Linked DNA regions of Homo sapiens: all the other regions are linked to region 1. The links are contacts of gene promoters, found by promoter capture Hi-C in human tissues and cell types (Jung and others, 2019). All regions are on one chromosome and are shown on one strand. The core of a region is centred on a gene start or on the middle of the fragment in contact, and the rest is flanking DNA. Distances in the headings are between cores, read along the strand shown. Region 1 has its middle 23 kb from the start of LINC02332. Region 2 holds the start of AJUBA (ajuba LIM protein). Region 3 holds the start of HAUS4 (HAUS augmin like complex subunit 4). Region 4 holds the start of PRMT5 (protein arginine methyltransferase 5).

Region 1 (2,626 bases), core at 72-2,571:
TGAATTCAGGATACAGCACCCTCACCTTTGGGAAGGGGACTATGCTTCTAGTCTCTCCAGGTACATGTTGACCCCATCCCACCCATGTTTTCCCCCTATCTGGTTTAAGGCTTCCATATGTATTGCGTGTTATCCTCATGGATTTCATCATCCTTGTTTTATTATCAATGTTCTGTGAATTTAAGATTGAGCCTCCATGGACTCTTCATTTAAAAATGAAAATAGCTAATAGAAGAGTTGGAAATAACAGTAGAACTAATTCACTAGGTCAGGATGGAGAAGGGAGTAATACCCTAGACAATTAGGACAAACGTGGTTTTTCCAGAAATAGACTCACTTCCTGTTTAAAGCCTAGACTGTGGTCTCTCCCCGGGCACCCTTCACATTCCTCTAACCCTCCATATCCCAAATTTAGCTGTGGAATCTTAGACAATCTGTGACCTATGCAGCTACAGAAATCTTTTCTTACTGAGAATATCTGCCTATTTGAACCAAAAGATCCTTGAGAATAGACAGTCTCTAATATTCCATGAAGTGTCTGATATGGTCCTTTTACAAAAGTAAATACTTGATAAATTCTTGCTTAATTGAAGTTAAACACCCAAAGAAATCAGGTTTCCAGGCCAAAGGGAAGAAGAAAATTAAGCAAATGACACAGTACATTTGAGCGTGTAGTGGGGAGGAAGAAATGCTAGATTGGGATTCAAATAGAGCCATGTTTTGGTCTCTGCTGCCAACTAGCAATGTAACTTAGACCAGATCTCTTGCCTCTAAGCCTCAGTTTCTTTATCTGTAAATGGGGAAGTGGGTCCAATGGCCTCTCTGGCCTCTTAGTACAAAAAGTCTATGAATGTATCCCATTTGGGGCACTTTTTTCTCCTAGGAGTAACTCAATAGCTATTTTAAAGCTTGAGTGTTTTCTAACTCATTAGAGCACATCAAGAAGAGGGGTGAAGTGACAAAAGGGAGTTTATTGTGAGGCATCAAACACTGTGATACTCACGGGAGGAGGAAACAAACTCACCTTTGGGACAGGCACTCAGCTAAAAGTGGAACTCAGTAAGTATGAGATTCTATGGTAATTACAAAATGTATTCTGGTGACAATAAGTGGAAGAAAAGGTGATGTAATTTTTGTCATTGTATCTTATTTTTAATCTATTACTGAAGCATTAAGAATTGTGACATCCAGATAAATTAGTGAAAGTATTCAAAGGCTATATAAGCATGCTTTCGTTAGGGTGGAATTTAGCTAACCACTAAGACTTTTTCCAAGATATGAGATTTTCAGCTCTCTTCAACGTGAGAGTTTTTAATACTAGTATTAAGCTAAACGATGCTCAATGGAAGAAAAGAGCTAGAAGAGCAGAAAATTGCACCGTCATGATCAAATAGATCCTTTCTACTTCCACTGCCATGGACTCAGTGGTGCATTTAGAAGAGGGTATTCAAGGTCATTTTAGCCATGCCCCAAAAAAACCACTCCCAATTCATTCCAGAGATTGTGCCCCCTTATGCTAAACATCATCCAAGAAGAGTCAGTGAAGTACAGAGAAAGGAACCCAGGGCTTCTTGTTTCGGTCCAGAGTTCTAGGTTTGATTTGGTCCCAACTGGATGTGTGATATTGGAACGAGTCATTGCCCCTCTCTGCACCTCAGACTCCTCCAGTGGATGAGGGGGTCAAAGCCCTCAAAATCTGTTGTTCTGGGATTTCGCTATTATACCACCCGAGAGTTTATAGGACTCGAGAGTATGGAATCTTGTGAGTATTTCATAAACAAATTCTATGACCCTCAGGAAATAGCCCTGTTAATCAACAACCTAACTTAACATAGAAATAATAACCACCATCTCAGTCCCTACCATGTTTAGATACGATGCTAGATGCATGACATGTAGAATTGTTCATCTGAAATAACTCTGTGAGGTAAGGGGAAGTATCTTATTTTACAAAAGAAGAAACTGAGGCTCAGAGAAGGAAGTGCCCAAGATCCCAAAGCTAGTAAGTAAAGGGCCTAAATTTAAACTTGGGTCTGCCTGCCTGACTAAAAAGCCCTGCTCTTTCTTTTATTTTATTTTATTTTATTTATTTATTTATTTATTTCTGAGACAGAGTCTTGCTCTGTCACCCAGGCTGGAGTGCAGTGCAGTCTCAGCTCACTGCAGCCTCTGCCTCCCAGGTTCAAGCGATTCGATTCTCCTGCCTCAGCCTCCCAAGTAGCTGGGGTTACAGGCATGCGCCACCACACCTGAAAGCCCTGCTCTTTCTACTGCATGATGTCGTAGAGCTTGTGCTCTAGTTTACTTAGAAATGAGAGGTGATGCCAATCACAGTGACTGGTGAAATGCTTGGAATTTATCTTTTCTACTTTAGATATTGCTGTGAGTTAGAGAGGGTGCTTCGGGAAATCTTGACATGGATGCCCCAAGTGTCTAAAGAGTTCTCCTCCCCTTTCAATGACAAAACAAAGTACAGAGTTGCTGGGAGCATTTACCCCAATAGGGAGAAAAGAGAGGGGAGCTGGCTGCAGCCACTCCCTTGTTCTGACTGTCCCTTTCCTTCGCTGTTTCTTGTATTTTCCCCAGGCAGACCAGCCACCAATATAACTGATCTACAAGAGCCTGA
Region 2 (2,626 bases), core at 86-2,585, 450 kb after region 1:
ACCGTGACGGGTCCCTTCCCGTCCCTAACCACTTCTCTCACTCACCGAAGTAGTCCTCCCTGGCCTCTGGCTCCCGCATCCGGGCCCGGGCGGCCTCCGGAACGAAAGGACCTGGTGGCTCCTCCAGACCCGACGGCTCAATCCCCGAGGGTTCTCCGCGGGCTCCGGCTTCTCGCCCACCGGTGCCCACCGTCAGGCGAAGCAAAGCTGTTAGCTCGTCCTGGTACCGGGCGCCCACGGCGCAGTCCCCGTAGCCGGTCACAGAGTGTCGTCCGGGTTGCGCCCCCCGTCTCTCCAAGGGCCCCGCCGCTCCCACTCCGGCCCCGGCTAGAGCTCCAGGGCTGCCCAGGGCCGGGGGATACGAGTGGCGGCTTTCCTGGCAGCCGAACCCCGCGGGCCGCTGAGCGTACAATCGGTCCAGGGCGGCGTGGAGCTCCGGGTAGGCGGACGGGACCCCTCCGGGAGAATAGCCTGCCGGTGCTCCGGCCAGGGGTGGGCCAAACAGGCACGGCCCCGCTGGCAAGGGGCTCCCGTGGCGCTGGTCGTAGCCCATGCTGATGCCGCTGGTGCGATTGCTGCAGGGCCGGCTACCTCCAGCTCCGCCAGCCCCCGCCCCGTCCAGCAGCAGGCTGCCCCGGGGGCTGGACGGCTTGCTCGCGTCGCTGGCCGAGCTACTGGCGAAGCTAGAGCGGGGGCTGAGGGCCGGGGCCGTGGGCTCCAGCCGAAAATCGGGGGGCAACGACTGAGGTAGAGGCAAGGCCCGGGTGGGCGGCGGCCCCGCGGGAAAAGAGCCTTCGTAGCGCGGCGCCTCAAAGGAGCCGCGCTGATTTCGCTCAGCGTCCAGGGAACCTTGCTCCCGGGCCGGCTCCAACGGCTCATCCCCAGGTCCCCCAGTAGCTCCTCGGGGCCCTGACTTCCTAGGTCCCCCCAACCCACTTAGGCGCCCCTTGCCCGGCCCGGGGGTCCCGTCAGACCCAGACCGGCTAGATTCACCCTTTCTGCGGCCGAACTTCTCCAGCAGGCGACTGGCTTTCTCTCCTAACCGCTCCATGCCCTCGGGCCTGGGGCCTCTCGCCCCCTCCCCGCCTGGCACCCTGCGGCGTCTCGGCGGCCGGTTCTCTTTCCCTGCAGCCGGACTCTGGTTCCCCAGGGGCACAGGGGAGGCACAGGGGCTTAGCGGGCGGCCTGGATGCCCTGCGCCAGGAATCCCACAGCATCCCCCAGCGGGAGGGGCTGCGTCCCCCCGCGCATCTGGGGCTGAGCGGGGCTAGCAGGGTCTCTGGCCGCGGCTGTCCAGTCCGCAGGTCTATCTGTTCACGCGTCGACTCGCCCGACTGCCCCACTCTCCCCGGCCCCCGCCCCCCTAGCTCTCACGCTAGCCACAGACCGAACTTCTCTCCCAAACTTTTGTCTGCCTGGCCGGATCTACTTTCCTAGGGGGGCGGAGCGCGGTGTGTGCGAGAGCGCCGGGGGTGTCCGCGCAGGGATAGCTGGTGTGCGTGCAGCGGAAGGCGCTAACTGCCCTGGATGTGGAGACCCGCGGACTGGACGTGAGAGGCGGGCAGGGGCAGTTGGGGCAGCTGCCCCTACAACACTGAAGAATTGGAATAGGAAAGAGTGTGGGGGTAGGGGACGGGGACTCTTTGTCTGCAGTTGGAATGCGCGGAGGGGCATGGTGGAATGTGTCGCGTCCCGGGACCGGACGACAGGAGGCATGTTCTGCGCTAGCACCGTGACTTTGTTCCCAGCGTGGGGACTGTGGGAGAGATGGAGAGAGACTGGTACAGAAATGGTGAGACAAGGAGAGAGCCATAAAGAGGAAGACAGAGAGAAAGAAGACAAATGCATAAAGAGGTTCAGAGACGTGTACGTAAAGATAGCCCTGAAAGGCGACGAAGCCCACAGAGAGAGGTGGAAGAGGGAAGAGGTAGCGAAAGAAAGGGAGAGCTGAGGAGCAAAGAGGAGTGTGGACGATGCAGAGACCGAAGGGTGCGCAGACAAAGGAAAGGACAAGCTTGTCCAGAGAGAATGAGAGACAAACAGATAAACTGCAATAAAAAGGCACCACCTTCTGGACCCAAAAGTTTTGTGATTTGTAAAAGCAGTGAAAAGGAGTCAGGAAAATGGGACTAATCTCTACTTTGAGAGGGAGGGAAAGAGATATAGTGTGTATGTAGAAGCAGTGAAAAGGAGTGAGGAAAAGGTTTGGGACTAATCTCTACCTTAAGGGTAGGACAGTTAGAGGGATAGACACCCCCTGGTGTTGGGAAATGAGATTTTTCTCATTTCAGGTGACTGTGGAGATCGAAGGCCTGGTTTTAGGGCTAGCGAACACCTTCTCCCTTTGGTTTTGGTCCACAGAAGACTGGTGATACAGAGTAAGTATTAAGAGGAAGAAAAGAAATGCCGTGTAGAGGAAATTGCAAATGAAAATGATCAGGATGGAAAAGAGGCTGATATTGACTATTTTAAAAGGATCAAGAATAAGGAAAAGAAACCCTGGCTGAAGCAGCCGGGCGCGGTGGCTCACGCCTGTAATCCCACCACTTTGGGAGGCTGAGGCGGGCGGATCACTTGAAGTCAAGAGTTCAGACCAGCCTGGCCAACATGGTGAAGCCCTATCTCT
Region 3 (2,626 bases), core at 57-2,556, 420 kb after region 1:
GACAAGAAGACTGACAGTGAGGTCAGTGGCAAAAGAGTAATGCAAAGGTGTAATGTGGCTACAACGAGAACGTGAGCTGTGGGTGTTTTGCCAGAACATGGAGTGCGCTGAAAGGAATGACACCAACACAGGGGCAGTAAAGATGGGCACAGTTTGACCTCAGGAGACAAAAATTTTCCCTTGACATTACTTTTCATGTTTTTGCTCTGCCCCTCCTCTCTGCAAGGTATCAAACTCCAAAGGGCAACTGAGCCTCCCAAAGCTGAACAGGCATTGAAGGTTATTATGATTTAACGCTTCATGTTTATAGAACATTTGGTTTACTCGATCGTTTTATGAGTAACATCAAAGTAACTACTCATTTGTTTTCTAACATGGTCTAGAGGGGGACGCAGCTGAGGAGGCAGAATGCTGGGACTTAATTTGCAGCTCGGCCGGCCGTTGCTTCTGAGAACTTAAGGAAAATGCTTTTTTCTGTGCCAAACTTTTCCCACCTGCAAAACTGAGATAACGATTCCTGCCTTGGATGAGACATTAAGAATTAATAACACAATCGACTTGTCAACAAAAGCCACTACTTAGTTAAGTTCAGTGTTTTAACAATTCTGTTTATCGTTGATCTATGACTGCAAATAAAAAGTTTTGCAGGCAAATTTCGCACTTGGAAATGAAGACCAACCCAAATTCCAAAAAGCTAGCTGTTCGTCCCCCCCTAGGGTAAGTGTCCCCTTGCGTTTTTTAGGGTGCCTTTCTTTACCCTTCTTAAAGGTTACAGGGCGTGAACGGCAATCAGGCTCGATTCTCCACCCTCTGCACTCAGACGTGTTAAAACGCTGCTACAGGGACCCAAGCATTTAAATGTTCTGACTCAGGCGTCTTTTAAATTCTTAGAGCTGTCTTTACACGCTGCACTGAACGTTAAATTGATTTTACAGGTTATTTTCACAAGATATGACCCTTACAGGGCCCGAGATGAATCAAAATGCAGAACGGGCTCTCCGGCGCCTACTTCCCTTCTGTCTGGGCGGCCAAGGATTCCCAAGAGCGACGACGGTCTCCGGCCACTGGCCGGAATGACTCTCCCAGAGCTCCTCTTCCCCGAAGCTCCGCCCGCCGACCCTCTAAAGCAAACCTGCACACCCTGGGGCAGCTGAAGCTCTCAAGGCGGTGCCGAGAACCTCGGCTGGGGCGGGCTGGCCAGCAGCGTCTACACCCCAGAACCCGCCCGCGCCGGGGCTCCGGAACCTCTCGTTCGGGCCGGGCGCAGGGGCTGGGGGAAGCGAGGCCCGGAAAGACCAAGCTGAAAGGCCCGGGAAGGGGAAGGAGCCGAAAGTGCACTAGAGGCCGCGACGAAGGAGGTGGAGGCGGGGCCACACTCGAGGCGGGAACGGCAGGCCCCGCCCCTCGACGGGTGCGCGCTGGGTTCCCAACGCCCTGGGTTCGCATGCTCGGGTGGTGGAACCCGGACTGGGAAACAGGATGGTCTCGGAAAGGCTTTTTTGCCCCTTCTCATTAGTGCCTCCCCAGTGAAGGGCAGATGCTGAGAAAATGGTGGTAATTGCTAACATTTATTGAGGGCCTACGATGAGTCAGGCACTACGCCAAGCATTTTGCTTGCCTTGCCTCGTTTTTTTTTTGAGACGGAGTCTCGCTCTGTCGCCCAGGCTGGGGTGCAGTGGCGCAATATCGGCTCGCTGCAAGCTCCGCCTCCCGGGTTCAAGCAATTCTCTGCCTCAGCCTCACGAGTAGCTGGGATTACAGGTGCCCGCCACCACGCCCGGCTAATTGTTGTATTTTTAGTAGAGACGGGGTTTCACCGTGTTAGCCAGGATGATCTGGATCTCCTGACCTCGTGATCCACCCGCCTCGGCCTCCCAAAGTGCTGGGATTACAGGCGTGAGCTACCGCCCTCGGCCAGGCCTCGTTTAGTTCTTAAAGCGTCCTGTGAGAAAGTCACCATTATACTCATTTTACAGAGGGGGAGAACTGAGGCACAAAGGGTTAAGTTCGAGGTCGCCATTTGGGGGGTCTAAACCTGTCCCAATAGCTCTCGGAAGGAACCTTCCCAGACCTGCCACCCAAGCCGCGTCCTGCGAGTCTCCTCACTAAGGCCTGGCTCTGAGGCGCTGCCGCCCAGCCCAGCCCAGCCCAGCCCAGCCCATGCCGGGCACCATACAGTGCTTCCTCAGGGTCACCTTCCTCTCGAATTCCCACCACAGACTCCCTATTAGCGCGCATTCCTCATTCGCCTGTTTTGTTTGTTTGTTTGTTTGTTTTCTTGGGGGTACGGAGTTTCGCACTTGTTGCCCAGGCTGGAGCGCAGTGGCACGATCTCGGCTCACCGCAACCTCCACCTCCCAGGTTCAAGCGATTCTCCTGCCCTAGCCTCCTGAGTAGCTGGGATTACCCGCACGAGCCACCACGCCTGGCTAATTTTTATATTTTTAGTAGAGACAGAGTTTCACAATATTGGCCAGGATGGTCTCGCACTCCTGACCTCAAGCAATCTGCCCGGCCAAATATCTTTCACCTGTCTTAATCTTTTTTTTTTTTTTTTTCCAGACGGAGTCTTGCTCTGTTGCCAGGCTGGAGTGCAGTGGCGCGATCTCTGCAACCTTCACCTCCC
Region 4 (2,626 bases), core at 37-2,536, 400 kb after region 1:
TTAGAAAAATCCAGCAGAGAAGTCAAACAGTCTTACCGCCTCGGAGTTCCTGCGAATCTTCTCCACTTTTGAGTCTGGACGAATCCATGGAGAAAGCTTTCCCACAATTAGCGTATTCCAGTCTGCACTCCCCCACCCAAGAAAGACAAATACTGAATAAGGTTCAGCACTTTACTTGTTCAATTTTTAGTTTTGGGAATCAAGAGTAGAAATGAGAGACAAAGGTTTTTTCTACATAGACATGGGATAGCCTGATGCAGAATAGAGAAGCAAGGAGAAAACAAGTTATCTATATCCCAGGGACTAACAAATATATCCAAGTCAGAAAAGGAGGAGAATGAGGGCCCCGATAAAGCAGAAGTTGTTATTGCCTCTAATAATTAAGGGGCATATGGGATGGTCCCTACCCCTTCCTGACAGCAGTAGGTCTGATCGTGTCTGGGGACCGGGCCGATTCTTAGCAGGTTCCTGAATGAACTCCCTCTTGAAACGCGGATGGAAGACAGGCATGCAGAGGAAATCAAACCTACAACCGCGACAGACCCAGAATCATGTAAAGACAGCAGCAGTGCCAGAGAGCCAAGCAACTGGATTTAGGCTATCTTGATTTTGCACAGCCCTTTCAGCTGCCATCAGTTCAGCCTACTAGGCTGCTGAGTTCAGACCACCTTGGGGGATATCAACTCTGCTGTACTGTGCCTCAATTTCTCCCTAAAACACAGCCATGGGACATATGAGTAAGGAGAAAATGATGGATATCCACAAGTAGAATTTTTTTCTCCTCAGGTGTCAGTATGTTTCCAAGACCATCACATCCAGATTTGCCCCAGTTCTGCCCATGCCTCCCCCGTCAAAATTAGCCTCTTCTCTCCCTTGCCCCCTAACACCTCCTCCCACTCCCAGACAATAATCGCGACCTCCAGGGCCCTTTAGAGTTTACCCAACAACTCTCCCAACTTTGGGACTCAGTGACCACAGGCCTCCCACAAGTTATTTTCCTCACGTTACTGGGTCCGAGGCTCCTCCCCTCCAAAGAGTAATAGTCTCTCCCCTCCTCATCCTAGCCGACCCCCTCACCCCTGCTTCTCCGGGATGACTAGTCTGCCCTTCTCCGTCCCCGAGTTCGGACCCCGCATTCCGCTCGTGGAGGTCCGGCCCTCACCCCTGCTTGGCCACAGCCCCTAGTGTGTCAGCTATTTCGGGGACGCAATTCAGGTCCCTCCCGCTGGACACGCGGCTCCCACCAGCACCCCCGACCGCCATCGCCGCCATCTTTCTCCTCGCGCTGTCCACGCCGGGATTCCTTGATACTAGTAGCCAATCACAAAGTCAAACTAGTGCCCCAGAAGGCGGGACGAGTCGCCTTAACAACCAGAGCGTCTGCCACAGCTCCCGAACAGGAGGGATGGGGAGTGGCTTTTCCTGCCAATCCGCGGGCTGCACAGTGGCGTACGGCATGGATCCACCAATCTCAGGGTCTGGTTCCTGACGAACTTCAATCTCCCAGAATGCTTAGTCTATCTGAAGAACGCCGTTGAGAGACTACACCGCCCATGAAACCCTGCAGTATAACCTTGAAGTACCATCACGGAGAGAAACAGTGCCATCTCAGGGCCAGTGGCGCAATGGATAACGCGTCTGACTACGGATCAGAAGATTCCAGGTTCGACTCCTGGCTGGCTCGGTGGGGTTCCTCGCAGCTTCGCTGCGTGAGCATTTTGTAATTTTCCTTTCCTTTCGCAGCTTGATGCTTCTTTATTATCTTCACGCTTTCATTATCAGATCCTGAGTCGGTTGGGTTATGCAGCCATGTAATGTCAGCTTTTCCCGTAACTACCCTCAAAAGTGTTTTTCTTGTGTCATTATTTACGTCCATATGAACACTGAGAAAACTGGGTTAATGGCTGGTGCTATTAAAATGAGCTTTGTCACCTTACTATGTTACATATTAAAATAAACTGCTAACTCAGCTACTACTTCCTAGTGATTCTAGGAAGTAGTGTTTTGTGTTTCAAACACAAAAGGTGTAAATAAACGCCTAAACACACACACACACCTCAAGATAGAGAAAAGGAATTCATTAATTACAGTGGGCAGCAGTCATGAAATTGGCTGGCATGGAGGCCAGAGAGAATCTACATTTTCTCATGTCATTAGCTGCTAGAGATGGAAAGGAAGGAAGCAAGGAAAGACATAGGGAGGTAAATGGGAACTCCAGAAGGCAGGGGGCCCACTGGTGTTGAGGGCTCGGCAGCAAGGATGGAGAGGAGAACACGGTACAAGAGACCCCACGCAGGCGCCGCTGGCAGAACTTAGGGACCGACTGGCAAGGAGTCCTGAGAAAGCAAAGTAGGGGGTGATGCCTAGGATTCTGTCCATGCAGTGAGCAAGAAATGCGGAAAGAGGGTTTGGGAAATCAGGGTTTGGGTTTGGTCATGCTGAATTGAACGTCTAGGGGGCGCTGTGTAATAGAAAGTTGGATGGAGGTCGCTAGAAGAAAAGAACTGAGGCCATGCGACTGAGATCACCATAGCTCGTTGGGGACAGAGCCATAGGAAATACGAAAAGGGTGTGGGGTAGGATAAGTTCTGGGGAACCCTGGGTGCAATGCAAGTGCCCCAAAAGA

The links. The method cuts DNA at HindIII sites, captures the fragments that hold promoters and counts their contacts. A contact is called where the count stands out against the background at its distance.
Region 2: a contact is called between the fragment with the promoter of AJUBA here and a fragment that was not itself captured in region 1, in 1 of the 25 tissues and cell types used here (thymus).
Region 3: a contact is called between the fragment with the promoter of HAUS4 here and a fragment that was not itself captured in region 1, in 2 of the 25 tissues and cell types used here (IMR-90 fibroblasts and lymphoblastoid cells).
Region 4: a contact is called between the fragment with the promoter of PRMT5 here and a fragment that was not itself captured in region 1, in 1 of the 25 tissues and cell types used here (dorsolateral prefrontal cortex).

Annotation. Positions count from the first base shown.
Region 1 is chr14:22,532,502-22,535,127 of GRCh38, forward strand. It overlaps TRA, TRAJ11 and TRAJ10. Among named protein-coding and RNA genes, the nearest start is that of LINC02332, 23 kb to the right of the region's middle. RefSeq lists a silencer at 625-674. The HindIII fragment of the contact is 7,292 bases long and covers 1-2,626 here.
Region 2 is chr14:22,981,216-22,983,841 of GRCh38, forward strand. AJUBA (ajuba LIM protein) reads right to left here and starts at 1,336. Exons shown (of 8, transcript NM_032876.6): 1 at 46-1,336. The coding sequence starts at 1,051. RefSeq lists enhancers at 385-1,350, 1,351-2,316. The HindIII fragment of the contact is 6,187 bases long and covers 1-2,626 here.
Region 3 is chr14:22,955,784-22,958,409 of GRCh38, forward strand. It overlaps HAUS4 (HAUS augmin like complex subunit 4), which reads right to left and starts at 1,307. Exons shown (of 10, transcript NM_001166269.2): 1 at 1,133-1,307. MIR4707 (microRNA 4707) reads right to left here and starts at 1,246; the gene lies at 1,167-1,246. RefSeq lists enhancers at 999-1,128, 1,511-2,090, 2,091-2,626 and a silencer at 2,469-2,626. The HindIII fragment of the contact is 8,338 bases long and covers 1-2,626 here.
Region 4 is chr14:22,928,090-22,930,715 of GRCh38, forward strand. PRMT5 (protein arginine methyltransferase 5) reads right to left here and starts at 1,287. Exons shown (of 17, transcript NM_006109.5): 1 at 1,163-1,287; 2 at 408-526; 3 at 37-122. The coding sequence starts at 1,272. PRMT5-DT (PRMT5 divergent transcript) reads left to right here and starts at 1,520. Exons shown (of 3, transcript NR_110002.1): 1 at 1,520-1,663. TRR-ACG1-3 (tRNA-Arg (anticodon ACG) 1-3) reads left to right here and starts at 1,612; the gene lies at 1,612-1,684. RefSeq lists an enhancer at 1,131-1,240 and a silencer at 1,651-1,740. The HindIII fragment of the contact is 24,447 bases long and covers 1-2,626 here.